Linked DNA regions of Homo sapiens: region 2 is linked to region 1. The links are contacts of gene promoters, found by promoter capture Hi-C in human tissues and cell types (Jung and others, 2019). All regions are on one chromosome and are shown on one strand. The core of a region is centred on a gene start or on the middle of the fragment in contact, and the rest is flanking DNA. Distances in the headings are between cores, read along the strand shown.

Evidence for each region. Contacts are between HindIII fragments. The study calls those that stand out against the background at their distance.
Region 2: a fragment that was not itself captured here is called in contact with the fragment with the promoter of ESRP1 in region 1 in 3 of the 25 tissues and cell types used here (H1 embryonic stem cells, mesendoderm cells and thymus).

Annotation. Positions count from the first base shown.
Region 1 is chr8:94,639,363-94,642,668 of GRCh38, reverse strand. It overlaps ESRP1 (epithelial splicing regulatory protein 1), which reads right to left and starts at 1,495. Exons shown (of 16, transcript NM_017697.4): 1 at 1,219-1,495; 2 at 585-713. The coding sequence starts at 1,350. LINC02894 (long intergenic non-protein coding RNA 2894) reads left to right here and starts at 3,202. Exons shown (of 1, transcript NR_034034.1): 1 at 3,202-3,306. RefSeq lists an enhancer at 68-157. The HindIII fragment of the contact is 5,400 bases long and covers 1-2,813 here.
Region 2 is chr8:94,676,421-94,679,726 of GRCh38, reverse strand. ESRP1 (epithelial splicing regulatory protein 1) reads right to left here. Exons shown (of 16, transcript NM_017697.4): 13 at 1,356-1,524. Among named protein-coding and RNA genes, the nearest start is that of ESRP1, 37 kb to the right of the region's middle. The HindIII fragment of the contact is 4,001 bases long and covers 1-3,306 here.

The DNA of each region.
Region 1 (3,306 bases), core at 246-2,745:
CAACGGGCAGCCTTGCACGTTCGGACCTGAAAAACCTCCCTGGCAGTGGGACCAAGGCCACTAAAGAAATAATGACGGACCGAGCCTTTCGTTGGGAGTTCAGAAGCCTGAAACCAGGCAGGCACCTTCAGGTTCCAACCCACAGTGCTACTTCTTGCACACCCGCCGGGCCCACCTGCACGTCTACGCCACAGCGCCCCCTGCCCGAAGGCTGTGGGCCCAAACCCCGCAGGGGAGCGGCGCGTCTGGGGTCTGGACCTGGAGATGGGGGCGCTAGGATTCAAACTCCGCACGTCAATCAATTGGCAAAATGGAGCTGACTCTCCGGCTCCAGTAACTACTCAGGAAGCAACTCGAAAACTAGTGAATGTCGGTCCCAAACCCTGGGGGCTGGGAGATGAAGAGAAGCAGCGACCCCCGCCCAAACGGTGCGCCCCGGCCCTCAGGCTGGGCTCCCACCCACGCGGCCGGGCAGGCGTCTCGCCACCCTGCTCCGGGAACACGCGTGGGCCGCCCTGAGAGGGCGTAGGGTGCGGTGGGGTTGGGCCCAGGCTGGGGTGGGTGGCGTGACCCGGGGTTGTCACCTGTCGGAGGGCTTGGTCCAGCTGCGACGCCGAGGACAGGCTTTCGACGTCTATTTTAGTTTCTTCTTTGCAGTCCTCCGTCAGTTCCAACTGATCCGGTCTAACTAGCACTTCGTGCAACTGTCCCACCTCCGAAGGTAGAGAAGCACGGGTCAGTTTCCCCCAATTTCGGAGCCTCTTTCTGCACCCTCCTCCCTCGCTCCCCTGCTGGGGCGGCCCGCGCCTCTCTTGGGGTCCGGACGCAGAATCAAAGCTCTCGACTCGCCATCGGTTCCGGTGCGTTCCTGCCCCCCGCCCCACCCCCCACCCGATAGGTCGGAAAAGCCCTGGAAGTGGACCCCGGGGCCTCCGAGACCCCACCTCGTCTCGGCGGAGCGTCCCCCGACGGGCAAAGAACCCGGCTCGGTAGCGCCGGCCTCTCCACCTGAGCTAAGTTGCGGAGGACTGAAATGGCTCCAAGGCAGTTGGCCAATAAGTTTGGTTTTACTCTAGCTTCCCTAGGCCTCGGGTCCAGACTCACAAGTGGGCAAACAAGAGCACTTATTTACTTACCTCCACCCCCCTCCCCGCCCAAACCTCTACCACAAACTTCTTGCCCCATTCCTTGCATTTAGACGAAAATGTGGAGAAATACCTTCTTGTTGGCCAGATCCACGACTTTCCAGAACAGCAGGATCAACTCCTTCTCATCCGAGCCTAGCTTGGCCCCGGTGGCCCCAGCAGTGATCCCAAAAAGCACCACCAAGTAATCCGGAGAGGCCGTCATGACGATAGGTGGGGAGGGGGAGAGGGGGGGTCGGGAGGCGGTAAGGTGGTGTGGAAGTGAGAACGAAAAAACCTGTGCTAAACCCTCTTCTAAGAGAAAAAGAAAGAGCGCCCACCCCCCTTCCTTGCTACTGCTAGTGCAAAAGGCGGTAACCAACCACCCAAGCCCACACCTGGTCGGTGCTCCACGCCCAGGGCAGGAAGGGGGGTGGGAAGGAGGGCGCAGGAGGCCTGCCCTTTTTGTATTCAGTTGCCCGGGCGTCTATGCAAAAAGCCTGGAGCAAGGCTGCCCCCCCCGGGAGGCACGCAATGGCTGAAAGCTTTTCTGTTTTGGGATGTGGCTTTACCTGCCCGCCCCTTCCCCCTCCCCCACGTGGTGCAGGTAAGAGACACCTGGCGGCGCCGGCCCATTGGCTCCTTCAAACCACGACGTGGCAGCGGTGGGGGAGGAGGCCGCTTCGGGAGGGGGAGGAAGGGGCGGGAGACAATGGCTGGATGAATGGAGAGGCGAGGGCAGGGGAGGAGGAGGGGGAGACGTGAGGGGCAGGGAAGAGGCGGTTGACACCCAGAGGGTAGACGAGGCCAGACGGGGAAAGGGCTCAGAGAGGTAAAGGGCTCGGAGTCGCTGGGGGGAGGGGTTCCCACTGGAGGTAACTGAGAGGTGCAGGGGGGCTCGGAGAATACCGGCTGCAGGGAACGAAGCCGAAGGTTCTGAACGGTCAAGCGAAAAGGCCAGGTGCAGGGAGGCGAAAGGAGGCCAGAGGTGAGGCCCGGGGCGCGGAGCTGCCCAGGGCGCGGCGCAGGCGGAGGACGAACTGCTGAGGGAGGGACCTGCCAACCGCAGCCAGGAGGTGGCGGGGGCAACTGCAGATCCCCGGAAAAGCAGCTCCTGAGCCAACACAACTTTCAGTGCAAACAGCAGGAGAAATCCTGCGAGCCCCCCCTTCTCCGGGCCGGAGCCCGGGTGCACGCTCGTCCCAAACCCGCCGCGCTGCCCACCTTCCGGAGAGGAACCCCGCGCGCGGCAGAGCCGGACGCCAGGGGCTGGACGCCCAACCACCTAGTCACTCCCCAGGACGCAGTTATCGCGCGCAAAGCAGCTGGGGGACCCCGCAAGGAAACTCAGGCACAATGGAGCCCGCTTCTTTTTCTGTCAACTCTGAATGCTATGTCTGGTTTGGTCCTGGCTGCTAGTTCGAAGCTGGAACATCCTCCAGAGCTGGGGCCCATTTCCTTTTATTTGCCTTGGGCCCCAAATGAAAAGCATCTATCCGCATGCCTAATAAAAATTTTCTTAAATCGGGCCACGCAGGCTTTTTCCCAGGTTCTGCGCCCTGACCCCATTCCCTCTGCTCATGCTTTTGGCATTGTATTGGAGTGTGTTGACTTGACCAAGCTCCCAAACAACCTCCCTGCTCCACCTCAGCTTGGTCTGCCCAGAGGCTCGTACCCCAACCATCACCCCCCAGCCACCAGATCGGTGGCAGTATGTTGTTGGGTCTTGTTGACATTTTAGAGAGAAAAGCGCCAGAGGTGAAGTTTTCTCGGGTTTTATATCTCAAAGCGATTTGTTCTTGGGAACAGAATTCTGTCTGAAGTATTAATAATTCGGCTCTAGGTGTCCAGCCCCGTTCATATTCATGATGTGAAACGGGCAACCATGCACCTATCCCTGCAGAACCCACTCCGGGTACAAATCCGGTAACCTTTCAAGACGCGTGTCAAGGGAAGCTGGAGACCTGGCTTTCCCAGTGGGGGTTCAGCTCCCGGGAGGGGGGAGAGGAGCCCGAGGCCCGCGCCGTCTCGTTTCCTGGTAGGAGAAGGTGCAGGCGGAGGCGGGGCCTCCCGTGATACAGGTGGCAGCTCTCGTCCCCTGAGAGCGGGCGAAGGCCAGGGTCCCACACTCGCAGCGCTGCGACGGCGCTCGGGACCTCCCTCGTCCACTGCTTGAGTTCCA
Region 2 (3,306 bases), core at 442-2,941, 37 kb before region 1:
CTACACTCCTATACTCAGACTTAATAATGAGCACAATACAAATTTTAAAACTACTGGTAGAAAAAAAAAAATTGACCTACAGGCCCACATCCAACATTACAGGAGCTATTAAGCCATAAATGTCAGTTCCTTCTGCCTTTGGGGCTTCAAGATTCATGGTCTCATTTCCAAGAAACTCCTTCCTGTACCACTACTCAGGTGGCAAGTAGTGATGGAAGTGGATATTCTACAATTACACTGTAGGAACAAGAACACTGGCAGACATTCAGAGACACCAAGGATTCCATTCCTGACATTCTGATGACATAAGCAATTATCACAGGGTCCAGAGAGGGTGGCAGATTGGGGCTGGGCTACGTGTCTGGCACAGTATTCCATCATGAACAGTTACTCATGCTTCTTAGCCTTTTCAAACCTTCAGAAGACAGCTAGCTGACAACTGTCATAGCCTTTTTCTTATTTTTCTTCTCCAGTGGAATAAAAAATATTTTCAATAGCATTAATGTTTTAAAAACTTCTAACAAAATAAAAAACATAATTAAAAGTGGCTACAAACTTGCCTGTTATTATGAGACCCCTAACTCTTACTCCTTAGTGGAAAATTCTGTATTGGACAGGGAAGAAAAATACAATGCAACATAGCTGTAGGATCAGACAGGTTAGGTCCAAGACACTTATTATAAGCCTCATTTACATGCTCGTGCATGTACTCCAAATATTTCTTCTAAATAGCTTGGAAAGAAACTAACATTCAGTCTCCCAACTCCCAGACTGACAACATTCTCTCCATTATATGCTAGTATGCTATGTCCGAGAAATTGAACACAACTAAAAAGACAGACTTAAAATATATAGACTCTAAGAAAACACTAAATAATCTAATTCTGGATTGGTTTATAGATTTGTTTAAAGATTTAGGAGGAAAAGAATATAAGCCCTGGAATATTTAAAGCAACAGTTTTTATTCACTGTGCCATAACATGAACTCATACTACTTCAAAATAGCATTGTTCCTGTTATGAATTTTCCTGTTTTATGATTCATTCATCTGATATTGCCATCCTATTGCAGTGATCACATCACTACTCACTTGGGGTCCTATGACAGGAGAGGTAAAAAAGGAAAGCTGTAGACATAGGTGACCTAAAAGATCATGCTGTCAGTATATGGTTAAAAACTATACTGCTTTTGCTTTGTCTTGAAACAACCTTCTTGGTCAGAGATATGACCAGAGGCTGTGGCCTGCCACGCTAACCTTCAACATGGCAGACAATATTCTTTTGTGAGCTCTTGCACTGGCTATCAAAGGAGTCCTTTGTTTCTGCCCCTCATTTCCACCTCTGTCAGAGCCTTACCTGGGATAGTACGCTGTGTAATTCATGAAGAGCTGAGTGCCTGCTGGGTAGTACGCTGTGGAGGGCTGCAGTGCTCGTGGATTCAAAATCACAGAGGGCTGGTAAATGGCAGCTTCTGTAGGAATAACTGCAGCAGGAGCTGGAAATGTGTAGGAGGGAGGAGACAGGCCTAGATATGCAAAGAGAGATTCTTTGAGACATATTTGTAACAGCTGACATGCACGTGCTAGCACTAAAAACATAGTCACTGTTCCATCTACACATTTTAAAGAAAGAGACCACAGTTCTTTATCCTATCCCAAGCAATTTCCTTTTGATTATACAGTTAATGCATAGAAGTATCTGAATTCCACCCTGTCAACCTAAAAAACAGTTCTTTGCCTGAAATTCGGAAACACCAAAATCAAGTGGATTTTCATGTCTTCTCAACCATTTCACAATATGTAATTTTTTTCCCTCATGTTCCTGAGTGCCAGTTACTACAAACCAACTCTCAGAGGAAAGAAACAAGGAACTGATGTTTAAGTTTCATACTAGAGGCTACTAAATATTTTAAATTTTAAGTTATGCTTCTACTCCCTCTTGCTACCTACCCGTCAGTACAGCATCAAATGAGAAGTGTTATGATAAACCTCTCTTGGCCACTACCACATATTAGGTCAAAGCATAGACTGTGCCAGAAGGAACTGACCTAAAAGAAACAAGCAGATCAATTCTGCATTATTCTCACCTAAAGGCTAGCCACATGATGGGCTTTGAAGCTAATTTATATCTTCAGACCTTTAAAAAGAAAAAAATCCAACCTGGGAAATAGTCCCAAAGGAATTGATGCCTAAGTCTTCCTGGGAATCAACTAATAAAAAGCTGGCTCAGATTAAATTAAAAAATGGGCCCCAACTGCATTGTCTTCTGGTTATCAAACATCTTCTAGGTTTAGAAACAGAAGACCAGTGGCTGGTCACTAGCTTTCACTTGTGGAATGAACACAACTATCCGGGCCATTTATACCCAATAGAAGAGTTAAGTTGAGATGCTGAATGAATATGGGGTCCCTGACTTTAAGCTTCATACCTAGAACCACCACATTTTGCAATCAGCAGAGGCCCAAGAAATAACTTTTTCCCATAAAAATCTCCAAGCTGACTTCAAATTGTCTTTTGTTCTTATGAGTTTCTACATTTCCATGGAGATGAATAAGACAGCAAGCTAAATATGGGCGTATAGAAAAAAGACTAACATATTGATCTCATATTTAACTTGAGTGCCTCTTTCATACTCATCAAAAACTGTGCAAAAGACCAACAATACAAATTGAGGCACCTAAGTCTCACAGAAAGTTATACAGCCTGTGCTCATATTCTGATTTCTTGAATTTTTTTTTAGTAGAAACAGGGTTTCGCCATGTTGGTCAGGCTGGTCTCGAACTCCTGACTTCGGGTGATCTGCCCGCCTTGGCCTCCCAAAGTGCTGGGATTACAGGCGTAAGCCACCGCGCCCGGTTCATATTCTGATTTCAAAACTATCAAGCGGTTCATTACAGGACAGTGCCTCACACCAATAAGACAAACACACATGGCTGGGTGTGGTGGCTCACGCCTGTAATCTCAGCACTTTGGGAGGCCGAAGCGGGCAGATCACAAGGGCAGGAGATCCAGACCATCCTGGCCAACATGGTGAGACCCCATCTCTACTAAAATACAAAAAATTAGCTGGGCATGGTGGCACACTCCTGTAGTCCCAGCTACTCAGGAGGTTGAGGCAGGAGAATCACTTCAACCTGGGAGTCAGAGGTTGCAGCGAGCCAAGACTGAGCCACTGCATGCCAGCCTGGCAGAAAAGCAAGACTCCGTCTCAAAACAAAACAAAACAAAAAAAAACCACACATGCATAAACACACACACATAGTAGGTGTAAGTCTGTTCAGCTTCAAAACAAAGGTAGAAATTTTCGA